Regions from separate parts of the Homo sapiens genome. Here all the other regions are linked to region 2. The links are contacts of gene promoters, found by promoter capture Hi-C in blood cells and fetal thymus (Javierre and others, 2016). All regions are on one chromosome and are shown on one strand. Each heading gives the region's core, a stretch centred on a gene start or on the middle of the fragment in contact. The rest is flanking DNA. Distances are from core to core; before and after follow the strand shown. Region 1 has its middle 6.5 kb from the start of MIR4515. Region 2 holds the start of AP3B2 (adaptor related protein complex 3 subunit beta 2). Region 3 overlaps BTBD1 (BTB domain containing 1). Region 4 overlaps LOC124903543 (a long non-coding RNA gene).

Region 1 (2,700 bases), core at 135-2,634, 360 kb before region 2:
ATCACAGGGCAGGTCCGACATAAATGTCTTGGTGCTATTCTCATGGGAGTAAGTGAATTCTCACTCTTAGTTCTCATTAGAACTGATTATTGAAAGAGCCTGGCACCTCCTCCCCTCTCTCTTGCTTCTTCTCTCACCATGTGATCTGTACATGCCAGCTGCCCCCTTTGCCTTCCACCATGAGTAGAAGCAGCCTGCAAAACTGTGAGCCAAATAAACCTCTTTTCTTTATAAATTATGTAGCATCAGGTACTCCTTTATAGCATCACAAATGGACTAGGACAGAAAATTTGTACCAAGGGTCGGGGGTTACTAGGAAGATACCTGAAAATGTGGAAGTGGTTTTAAAACTGAGTAATGGGAAGATGTTGGAAGAGTTTGGAGGGCTCAGAAGAAGACAGGAAGACAAGGGAAAGTTTGAAACTTTGAGACTGGTTAAGTGGTTGTGGGCAAAATGCTGATAGAAACATGAACAATGAAGGCCAGGCTGATGAGGTCTCAGTTGGAAATGAGGCACTTATTGGGAACTGGAGCAAAGGTCACCCTTGTTAAACTATAGCAAATAACGTGGCTGCATTGTGTCCATGCACTAGGACTTTGTGGAAGGCTGAACTTCAGAGTGATGACCTAGGGTATCTGGTAGAAGAAATTTCTAAGCAGCAAAGCATCCAAGACATGGTGTGGCTACTTTTAACAGATTATGAGCAGATATAGGAGTCAAGGCATGATCTAAAATTGGAACTTAAAAGGGAAGCAGAGAGTAAAACTTTGGAAAATTCTCAGCCTGGCCATGTGGTACAGAAGGAAAGAACATTTTCAGGTGAGGAATCCAAGAGCACAGCTGAGCCACCACTTGTTAGAGAGATTATCACAGATAAAAGGGAGGCAGGTGCTCGGGCCAGGCGTGGTGGCTCACGCCTGTAATCTCAGCACTTTGGGAGGCCAAGGTGGGCAGATCACAAGGTCAGGAGTTCAAGACCAGCCTGGCCAACATGGTGAAACCCCGTCTCTACTAAAAATACAAAAATTAGCTGGGCATGGTGGCACATGCCTATAATCCCAGCTACTTGGTAGGCTGAGGCAAGAGAATAACCTGAACCCAGGAGGTGGAGGTTGCAGTGAGCCAAGACCATGCCACTGCACTCCAGCCTGGCAACAGAGCGAGACAGTCTTTAACAAAAAAAAAAAAAAAAAAAAAAAAAAAAAAAAAAAAAAAAAAAAAAAAAAGGGAGGCAGGTGCTAATAGTCAAGACAATGGAAAAAGTCCCTGAAGGCATTTCAGAAATCTTCAAGTCTGTCTCTCCCATCACAGGCCAGGGGTCTAGGAGGACAGAATGTTTTGGGGGCCAGGCCTGGGGTGCTGCTGCCCTGCAGCCACCTTTGGACTCTGCTTCCTACATTCCAGCCCTGGGTGCTGCTCAGGCTGCCTATCCAGAGGATGCAAGCCATAAGCCTTGGTGGCATCCACGTGGTGTTAAGTCTGCAGATATGCAGAATGCAAGAGTAGCAAAGGCTTACATTTCCTTGTAGTTTGATATATTTCATCAGTATGGAAATTTTCCAGCCAGTATTTTTTTCAAATGCTCTTCTGCCTCATTCTCTATCATCCTTCTATGACTCCATTATACATATGTTAGTCCTTTTCACTTTGTCTCATGATTAACAGAATTAACAGACATATGTTGTTTCCTATTTATTTATTTATTTTATTGAGACAGGATCTCATTCTGTTGCCCAGGCTGGAGTGCAGTGGCATGATCATGGCTCACTGCAGCCTCCACCTCCAGGGTTCAAGTGATTCTCCTGCATCAGCCAGCTGAGTATCTGGGATTACAGTTGGACACCACTATGCCCAGCTAATTTTTGTATTTTTTGTAAAGGTGGAGCTTTGCCATGTTGCCCAGGCTGGTCTCAAACTCCTGGCCTTAAGCAATCTGCCTGTCTTGGGCTCCTAAAGTGCTGGGATTACAGGTGTGAGCTGCTGTGCCTGGCCTGTTTTCTGTATTTTCTATGCTTTTTTCTCTCTGTGTTTCAATTTAAACATTTTCTACAGGCTTGTCTTCCAGTTACATTAATTCTCTGTTCTGCTATATCTAATTTTCTATTAAACACAAATTAGTTATTAATTTGTTATAGTACTTTTTCAGGTCAAGGATCTCCATTTGACCCTTCTGCACAGATTCCAATTCTCTGGTAAAATTCTTCATCTTTTTTCTATTTTTTTCATACAGTAATTATAGTTATTTTATTTATTATTATTATTATTATTATTATTTTTATTTTTTTTTTTTTTGAGATGGGATCTCGCTCTGTCAGGCCCAGGCTGGAGTGCAGTGGTGCAATCTTGGCTTACTGCGACCTCCGCCTCCCAGGTTCAAGCGATTCTCCCACCTCAGTCTCCCAAATAGCTGGGATTATAGGCACCCACTACCACGCCCAGCTAATTTTTTGTATTTTTAGTAGAGATAAGGTTTTACCATACCGGCCAGGCTGGTCTCAAACTCCCTACCTCAGGTGATCCACCTGCCCTCAGACTCCCAAAGTGCAATCATAGTTATTTTAAAGTCCTTGTCTGATAAATTCAATACCTGAATCCTATAGAACTGATTCCATTATCTTCTCTCTCTCTCCCTCTCTCTCATGTTTTCAATATGCCTCATAATTTTTAATTTTCTTGACAACATTGTAGATGAAAAAGTG
Region 2 (2,700 bases), core at 179-2,678:
GACGCGGACCCACCATCCTATCACTCCATGCGCAGCAACTGTGTGCACTTTGCACTGTGTCTGCTCGTCCCAGGTCCCAGCCTGGACCCCCGGCAAATAGACGGGAGCTCCAGCAGGTCGGTGAGCGTGGCCCAGCTACCTGCACAGGACCCATCCCACCTCCTGAGCAGACTAGCCAAAGCGCCTTATAAACGCGCAACTGCAAAATCCAGGCCCTTCTCTTCCCACTCCCCACCCAGGCCAGTTTTCTCCAAATTCAAGATCCACTTTTCTCTGGCAGGCACAAAGCCACCGGAACCAAGCGGACCCACCCACTTGTCTAGGTTATCCCAACAGAACCTTCTCATTACCCCAATAGAACCTTACCCCAGTAGAATTACCCCCAATAGAACTTTTCTACTGAGCCAAGCTCCACCTTTCTGGGCCCCACTCCTTCCCAGGTAGGCCCGCCAATTCTGCCCATGGAGACTTCGGGATGCTAGTTACAGACCAAGACTCAGGCCTTAGGAACTCCTCCAGTCCCCATGCCCAGCTAAAAGACTCCAGCCACCTCAACTGATGCCCAACTGGATCCTACCTCTTCCCCCAGCCCAATTCACTACTTTCCATCGGATCCAAGCCTTCCTTCCTTGGGCCTAGGGGTCACTCGGGCTCGGGAGCTGAACTGGAGGGCTCACATGACTCAGGAGCCCTGGTGGTCACACCAGACCCTTCTCTTCCTTTTCAGGTGTCAATGGACGTGGACGTGTCCCCGGATTAAGCATGACCTTGGCCCTCCTGGGTGGACGTGGAGGCTTCAGAAAGATTCATTAAACTACTTTCCAAAGCTTAATTAGATGTTCACCGTCCTCTGTATCCTGTTTCCCATCTCTCTAAGCCCCCAAGGGCTCCTCGGAGCTCCCTGACCTTAATTCCTTAAATTCCGCCACCTCCAGGAAGCTCCTCGGCTTCCTGCTGCCAAGCCAGATTTTGTAGGAAAGGTGGGGCGGGAAAGGGAGCGTCCTTAGGTATCTGAGGCCGGTCCTCGGGTGCGGTGACCCCTTCCCGCTCTAGAACCCCCAGCCTGCGGGCACAGCCTTCTTTCCAGTTCCCGCTTTCCCTCCACGGCGTGGGTGAGCATCCGCGCGTGCGTCTGGGGAGAGCGGAGCCCCAGAGGCCCGTCCCGCCGAGGCCAGGTGGTCGGGGGTGGGGGCAGCTATTCCACATCCCCTGCAAGACGGTCCCAGCGTCCGTCCAGCAGACTCGCCCACCTTTAGATCTGGAGACGAGCCAAGTCGCTTTAAAGGGCAGAAGACGCCCTGAAGAGGGCATTTCCTAGGGATGGGCGGGGCCAGGCCCTGACGCACCGCCCCTGTCGCCTCCTCGCGGACACGCCCTCCGCTCGGCTGGCGCCGGTGCCTTTAAGACCTCAGCGCGCGGCCCTGATTGAGAAATCCGCGCGCAGCCTCCGCCGCTGCACACTGCAGCCTCTGCTGAACCCCTGCCGCGCCGCCGCCTTCGCCAGCCCGGACCGGACCGGCCCGCCTTCCCTTCCTCCGCTCCAGCCGGCCTCCGGCCCCGCAACCTCCTCCTCGGCGAAGTCTCCCTGGCCGCCCCATGTCGGCCGCCCCCGCCTACAGCGAAGACAAGGGCGGCTCCGCTGGCCCCGGGGAGCCCGAGTACGGCCACGACCCCGCGAGCGGCGGCATCTTCTCCTCCGACTACAAGCGGTGAGGGAGCCCGCCAGGAAGCTCGCGGGAGGGTTGGGGCCGGGGACCGGGCGAGGCGCGCGGGCACCATGGACAGCGCCCGGCCCCAGCGCCGGCCCCGCCCCGGCCGCGCCGACCGGAAGCCCGCCCGGCCCCCTCCTGCGGCCTGGAGCCCCGGCCCAGCGCGGGCAGCGCTGGCACCCCGGCTCCAGGGGCCGGCCTAGGACGCGGAGGGGGGCAGATAGGGGCTGGCGGGGGATGGGCCAGCTCAGTTTCGAGAGGAGAAACCCTCCGGTTCCAGGTGTTTCTCCGGTTTGCGGCGTTGCGTTAGGGGTTCCCTTCCTTTTTCGTGCTAGGCGGGTTGGCTTCCCAAAAATGTGGGGGAGGGGTCTGAGTCAGCGAACTTGAGCTTGAGCCTGGGGCCTCTTCAGGAAGGCGGGCCCTGGATGTACTTGCACAGCCTCCCAGCTTGGCCCTGCTGCAAATTCATTTCCCCTCCCTCTGGTCCCCATCTCCATCTGACCCTCACATCCCTGCTCCTGGCATTGCCCCTGTAGTTCAGCTCCACCTTCACACCCTCCCCCACCTTTGATTCGTTCGTTTGTTTCTTCATTTGTTTATTCGTAAATTCTGCAACAAGCATTTATGAAAAGCCAACTGTGTCGAGTCCTGAACTAGTCACGGAATACAACTGTGAACATGAGACCCTTCTTGTCCTCACGATGCTCTAGAGGGGAGCACAGATGAAGAAGCAGTCAGGGACAGTCGAGTGTAATGGGGGCAGTGGGAGCAGGGAGAGGACCTAGTCTCTGGCGCCGGAGAGAAGGAAGACAGGAGCGTGAGGTATGTTCCAGGCAGAGGAAAGGGCTTTCAGGAAGGTTGAGAGCCAGGCCACAATCTGTGTGAGCCACTGGACTGACCAGAAAAGAGGGTGGGGAGGACTCCTGAAGGATTCTAAGCAGGCGACATAATCAGATTTATATTTTAGAAGGACGTCAGGCTGCTGCATTGT
Region 3 (2,700 bases), core at 173-2,672, 340 kb before region 2:
GCCAAATAATTAGTGTCATTTATGATATGGTTAACTAATTGGCAGTATTCTCAGAAAGTTTCTGCCCAAGCCAACATAATACCTTTGGGCATTTAGTGTTTGCCCATCCTCTAAAATGTGAAGAGAACTAACCCCAGGCCAGAATGAAAGGTTGGTCATTGGCATGCCTATCATCATACCTCCTTTTTCAGTGTTTCAGCTTTTTAAAAATCTTGCTTGAGTTTAACTTGGACTCCCCCTGCTTATAAACTGTTTTTTTTTTTTTTGTGGGGGAGGGTTATAACATATGTATTGATAAAGCACATATTGTAAGCTTGACTTCTAACATCTTAAAGCCAAAATTAGTTCTTCTGGAATTCTACAGTACATATTCTTGCTCATTATATATTCTGGCTTTTTTGCTCATCATTAGGTTTGTGTGGTTCATTTATATTGGTTTGTGTAGTTGTAGATTGTTCATTCTCATTGTTGTATAATATTCCGTCATGTGAATTTTATGTATTTGTTCTTGTGTTGTTAGACCTAATTTTGCTTAGGTTTCCAGAGCTGTCATGCTCTAAAATTCTAGTACCCTATTCTCTCCTCAAAATCAAAACAGGCAATGGAAGAGAAAATCTGATATTTGCACTGTTGTGCTTGACAATTGATATTATAATTAGTGAAAAGACTATAAGATTTAAGTACTAGCTGTGCAACATACTTAACTAGATGATCTTAGGCAAGTCACTGTACCTCTCCAAACCTCTGAAAATGGGATAATAATGTAAGCCTTATCTAACATAAAGGGTTCATTAAGGATCAGAATAAGTAATGTATAAGAATATAGGCTGTACACACACACACACACACACACACACACACACACAAGCACATAAAAATAACAGGATTGGTATTGGTAATGTCAATTTGTTCTTAGCAGGGCATTTGTATTTTTAGCTTTTCATTTCTGATTGTAGAATGAAAAGTTTTAAGAATATGTAGACATTATTGCGTGTATTTTAAGTAGATATTTTTACATAATTAGCAATTATAACTGTTGACAATATTAATTTCAAATATGTACAGTCTGAAGGTAAAATAACTATGAAAGTTAAATAACTATCTCTTTATATGTTTAGGCTCGATTATTTGATGAACCTCAGCTTGCTAGTCTTTGTCTAGATACAATAGACAAAAGCACAATGGATGCAATAAGTGCAGAAGGGTTTACTGATATTGATATAGGTAAGTTCGCTATGAAGTAAATTGTTACATTTTAAGTACAGTTAATGCCTTACTTGTCAGCCTTGTTGGAGAAGGGGCTATTTTTAAATCAGTGGCTTTCCCAAATGATTGAAGTCTCTCTAAGAGTTTTGCTTTTTTTTGTTTTGGTGAAAATATTTCTAAAAGTCTTAACTAGCTCATTGCCTGTTAAAAGATTTCAAATCAAATAAATATTCATTGAATGCCCATCATATGCATGGCATTATTCTAGGGTCCATAGGAAATATAAAAAATAGTAAGAGATGAGTTGTCTTGTTAAGGAAACGTCTAATTGGAGAATCAAAGAACAAATATTTGAAAATTAAGATTTAAAACGCTAATAGAAGAGAGGGCATTAATACCTGGGTGATGAAATAGTCGGTACAGCAAACCCCGATGACACAAGTTTACCTCTGTGACAAACCTGCACATGTACCCCTGAACTTAAAATAAAAATTAAAAAAAAAGAGAGGACATATGGTAAAATGTGATTTCTATCTTTTCTAAATTAGATATGTAGAAAGTAATTACTATGCAAATCCGGAAAATGGTGCGATTACTTCAAATTGCAGTAGTGTTAGGAAAATTTTGACAGAGGAGGTTCTGATATGAGCCTTAAAGAATGGATAGCACAGTAGGTCCTTGAATAATGTCGTTTCATTATAATGTTGATAAGAAAAAAATGGACGCCTGGCGGGGGCCACGATCTGTAGGGTTTACATGTTCTCCTGTATCTTCGTGGTTTTCTCCAGGCACTCTAGTTTCCTCTCACATCCCAAAGATGTGCATTTAGGTTCTTTGGTGTGTCGAAATGGCCTCAGTCTGAATGAGAGTGTGTGTGAGTGTGCCCTGTGATGAAATGATGTACTGTGTGGGATTGGTTCCTGCCTATACCAAGCCACTGGGATAAGCTCTGGCCACCTGAGACTCTGAACTGGAATAAGTGGATTGGAAAATGATTTATCAAGTAAAAATTTGTAAAGTATATGATAATCATACAAATGTTTGATGATAAATGACATAGTATGAAAGCGCTCGGCAAGTCCACTATGTTATTTGCTTTTGAACTGCGTTGTGTGGGAGGTCCTCCTCAAAATTTTCACTTTGTAAACGTTTATTCCTGGATTTAACCCACCACCACTATGACCACTGTCACTCACTGATTCACCAAAAATTGGGTAAATGATTCTCTTTCTTGTCTGTATTAATCTTTCTTAAATGTATGTATAGCTCACATTTATTTCACTGTTCAATTTAGAAGTGCTTTGAGTCTTTATTTAGAAGCTTGGTGGTATTTTTGTGACCAGAAATATGCCATAGGAACTTAACTCTTGTTTCTATCAGTTAGCTCATGGTAAAATTGCTTTCGTTAGACACTTTCATTTGAAGTCACAGTTTCCAAGAACCCATACGTTGAGGACTTACTGTGTTTGGATAGTGGAGAGGGGAGGGCATTAG
Region 4 (2,700 bases), core at 62-2,561, 390 kb before region 2:
GTATCTAGACTGTTCCTGGGTATGTATCTCTCATACATACACATACATGCACACACACATTTTTTTTTTTCTTTTAGAGACAGGGTCTTGCTATGTTTACCAGGCTGACCTTGATCTCTTGGGCTCAAGCAATGCTCCTATCTCAGCCTCCTGAGTATCTGGGACTACAAGTGTGCACCACCAATCTCAGCTCTGTTTTATTTTTTAAAGAAGAAAAAACACAGTACTTGAAAACAGGAAAGGGTTCTACTAGTGAACCAGAAAATGTGAAGGATACATAGAATATTGTGCTGTTACTTTGGGTGCCCCTAATAAACAGCATCTCTCCTACCACTTGACTGTGAACTTGGCTATGTAGTTTGTTTTGGCCAGTGAGACATTAGGAAATGTAAGCAGAGGCTTATAAAACTGCTTGTACATTAGGGTTTAATCCTCTTAGAATGCACCTTCTTGGAACCTAAGCCACCATGCTGTCAGGAAGCTCAACCAGCCATGTAGAAAGGCTAACATGGAGAAGAACTAAGGTCCCTGGCTGACAACCTGAATTGAGATCCCAGCCAGTAGGTATCACTAAAAATTAGCCATGGGAGGATGTCATGAACCTTTCAACACCAAATAAAGCAAAACAACTGCATAATCAACCCACATGAGAAATGATACTTTTTTAAATGTTTTAAGCCACTAAATTTTGGGGTGGTTATGCAGCAGTAGATAACTGAAAAATACAAAACAGCAATGGAGAAAGAATAGAGGATTAAGACTGAAGCACCAGAATTCTTCCTAGGGGAGATAGGTCCAAGCTCAGAATCAACAAATGCAAAGAGTAGACGGAGACTTTGGATGATCATTCAGGAACAGCACTGAGAATAGCTCAGATAGTCAGCTCTTACCCTCTTCTGTGCATGAACATGTAGTAACTAGAAGCAATGGCTTTCACACTCAAGATTAATCAGGAAAACTGCTTTTTAAAGAAAGTGGGCAAACTTCCTAAGGAGTGTTTTTTGTTGTTTTAGAGACAGGGTCTTGCTCTGTCACCCAGGCTGGAGTACAGTTGTGCAGTCATAGCTCACTGCAGCTTCAGATTTCTGAGTTGAAGTGATCCTCCCACTTCAGCCTCCAGGGTCTTGGACTACAGACTTGCACCACCACACCTGGCTAATTTTTTGTAGAGACGAGATCTTGTTATGTTGCCCAGGGTGGCTCATGGAGTGTTTGAAGCGGGGTATAGGGCTTGAGAATGAAGTAGACCCCAGTTTGAAATACTAAAGAGATCTACCCCTCAGTGGAGGGTAAAGCCCACTTGAACTACTGTGAATGTCTCTAACCTGACTGTTTGCTTCTCCTTCAGACAACCTAAAAGGGTTTCTATCTTTTGATAGGCCCCACCTACTTACAAAGAACCCTCAGATGATTCTGTCAGCCAAGGAAGGGGCCTAACAGTGACTTACACATCTCTGCAAAGACACTCATGGAAACTACCATACTAATGAACATAGTCCTTTATTCATCAACGTAAACAGAAAACCAAAGATTGCAAATATATTAGGAAAACCAACAGCATGGAAGAGAAGATCCAAGTTGGACCAATAGAAAAATTGACCTTGGAGGAAACAGAGATAATTTAGGAAAGAAAGATTTTATAAAAATTGTGGTCACTATCTTCAGAATAATTTGAGAAGATGCTGCATTCAAGAACTGAGAAGAGGTGGCTATGGGAAAGGAACAAGCAAAGAACAAGAAAAGATTCTTGGGAATTAAAAGTGGGATTGCAATAGGGAACACTCAATAAGTGCGCCAAATAATAAATTGGATGCAGCGAAAGACCAAGCAGTTGATCTGGAATCAAGGAATCTCAGAATGTAGAGCAAGAAAAACAAAGAGACAGCAAACATAAGAGAGTGCCAAGGACAGACACAGAGATCCAGCATCTGTCTGATTAGGAAAGAACAGAGAAAATGAAAGAGAGAGAATACCCAAAGAAGTCACAGAACAACATTTTCTTAAGCTCAAGAAATATGTGAGTCTTTAAGACTGAAAGTGTTCACTGAACAAAATTAAGGTAAAAGGGTTAAACTCTTAGGCATGGTGGCTCATGCCTATAATCCCAGCACTTTGGGAGGCTAAGGCAGGAGGATCACTTGAGCCCAGAATTTCAAGACTAGCCTGGGCAATATGGTGAGACCCCATCTGTACAAAAAATTTAAAAATTAGCCAGGCGTGATGTCGCACACCTGTAGTCCCAGTTACTCAGAAGGCTGAGGTGGGAGGATCACTCAAATCTGGGAGGTGGAGGCTGCAGTGAACTATGATTGCACCACTGCACTCCAGCCTGGGGCAACACAGTGAGACCCTGCCTCAATAAAAAGAAAAAAATAAGATTAAACCTCCCTCACTAGCATTCTCAGTTCTCCTTACTCTATTTATTCCTTTTTTTGATAGCACTATATAATACTAGCACACTACATAATTGTCTTATGCATTATGCATATTATTTATGACCTGTCTCCCCTGCTAGAATGTAAGTTCCAGGAGGGCAGGAATCTTTGATTTGTTCCCTAATGAAGCCCAGCACCTTGAACAGTGCCTTGCACCCTGGAGCCATCAGTAAAGATACGTCAAATTGAATTAAAATCCAGACACATCTTGGTACAATTTCACAACTCCAAATATAAATGGGAAATCTTAAAATCTTGGGGATTT

What was found. The method cuts DNA at HindIII sites, captures the fragments that hold promoters and counts their contacts. A CHiCAGO score of 5 or more calls a contact.
Region 1: a contact is called between a fragment that was not itself captured here and the fragment with the promoter of AP3B2 in region 2, in 10 of 17 cell types (total CD8 T cells, naive CD8 T cells, total B cells and 7 more). The highest score is 10.3, in total CD8 T cells.
Region 3: a fragment that was not itself captured here is called in contact with the fragment with the promoter of AP3B2 in region 2 in 4 of 17 cell types (activated CD4 T cells, total CD4 T cells, monocytes and 1 more); the score reaches 6.1 in activated CD4 T cells.
Region 4: a contact is called between a fragment that was not itself captured here and the fragment with the promoter of AP3B2 in region 2, in 1 of 17 cell types (monocytes). The highest score is 5.8, in monocytes.

The regions. Positions count from the first base shown.
Region 1 is chr15:83,072,501-83,075,200 of GRCh38, reverse strand. No RefSeq gene overlaps it. Among named protein-coding and RNA genes, the nearest start is that of MIR4515, 6.5 kb to the right of the region's middle. The HindIII fragment of the contact is 7,362 bases long and covers 1-2,700 here.
Region 2 is chr15:82,708,603-82,711,302 of GRCh38, reverse strand. AP3B2 (adaptor related protein complex 3 subunit beta 2) reads left to right here and starts at 1,428. Exons shown (of 27, transcript NM_001278512.2): 1 at 1,428-1,709. The coding sequence starts at 1,597. It also overlaps the pseudogene LOC338963. RefSeq lists silencers at 1,375-1,424, 1,645-1,904. The HindIII fragment of the contact is 2,125 bases long and covers 830-2,700 here.
Region 3 is chr15:83,048,597-83,051,296 of GRCh38, reverse strand. It overlaps BTBD1 (BTB domain containing 1), which reads left to right. Exons shown (of 8, transcript NM_025238.4): 3 at 1,119-1,224. All of the region lies in intron 1 of LOC124903542 (a long non-coding RNA gene), which reads right to left. Among named protein-coding and RNA genes, the nearest start is that of BTBD1, 17 kb to the left of the region's middle. The HindIII fragment of the contact is 2,213 bases long and covers 316-2,528 here.
Region 4 is chr15:83,096,054-83,098,753 of GRCh38, reverse strand. It overlaps LOC124903543 (a long non-coding RNA gene), which reads left to right. Exons shown (of 2, transcript XR_007064743.1): 2 at 1-2,700. Among named protein-coding and RNA genes, the nearest start is that of TM6SF1, 10 kb to the left of the region's middle. The HindIII fragment of the contact is 2,989 bases long and covers 1-2,700 here.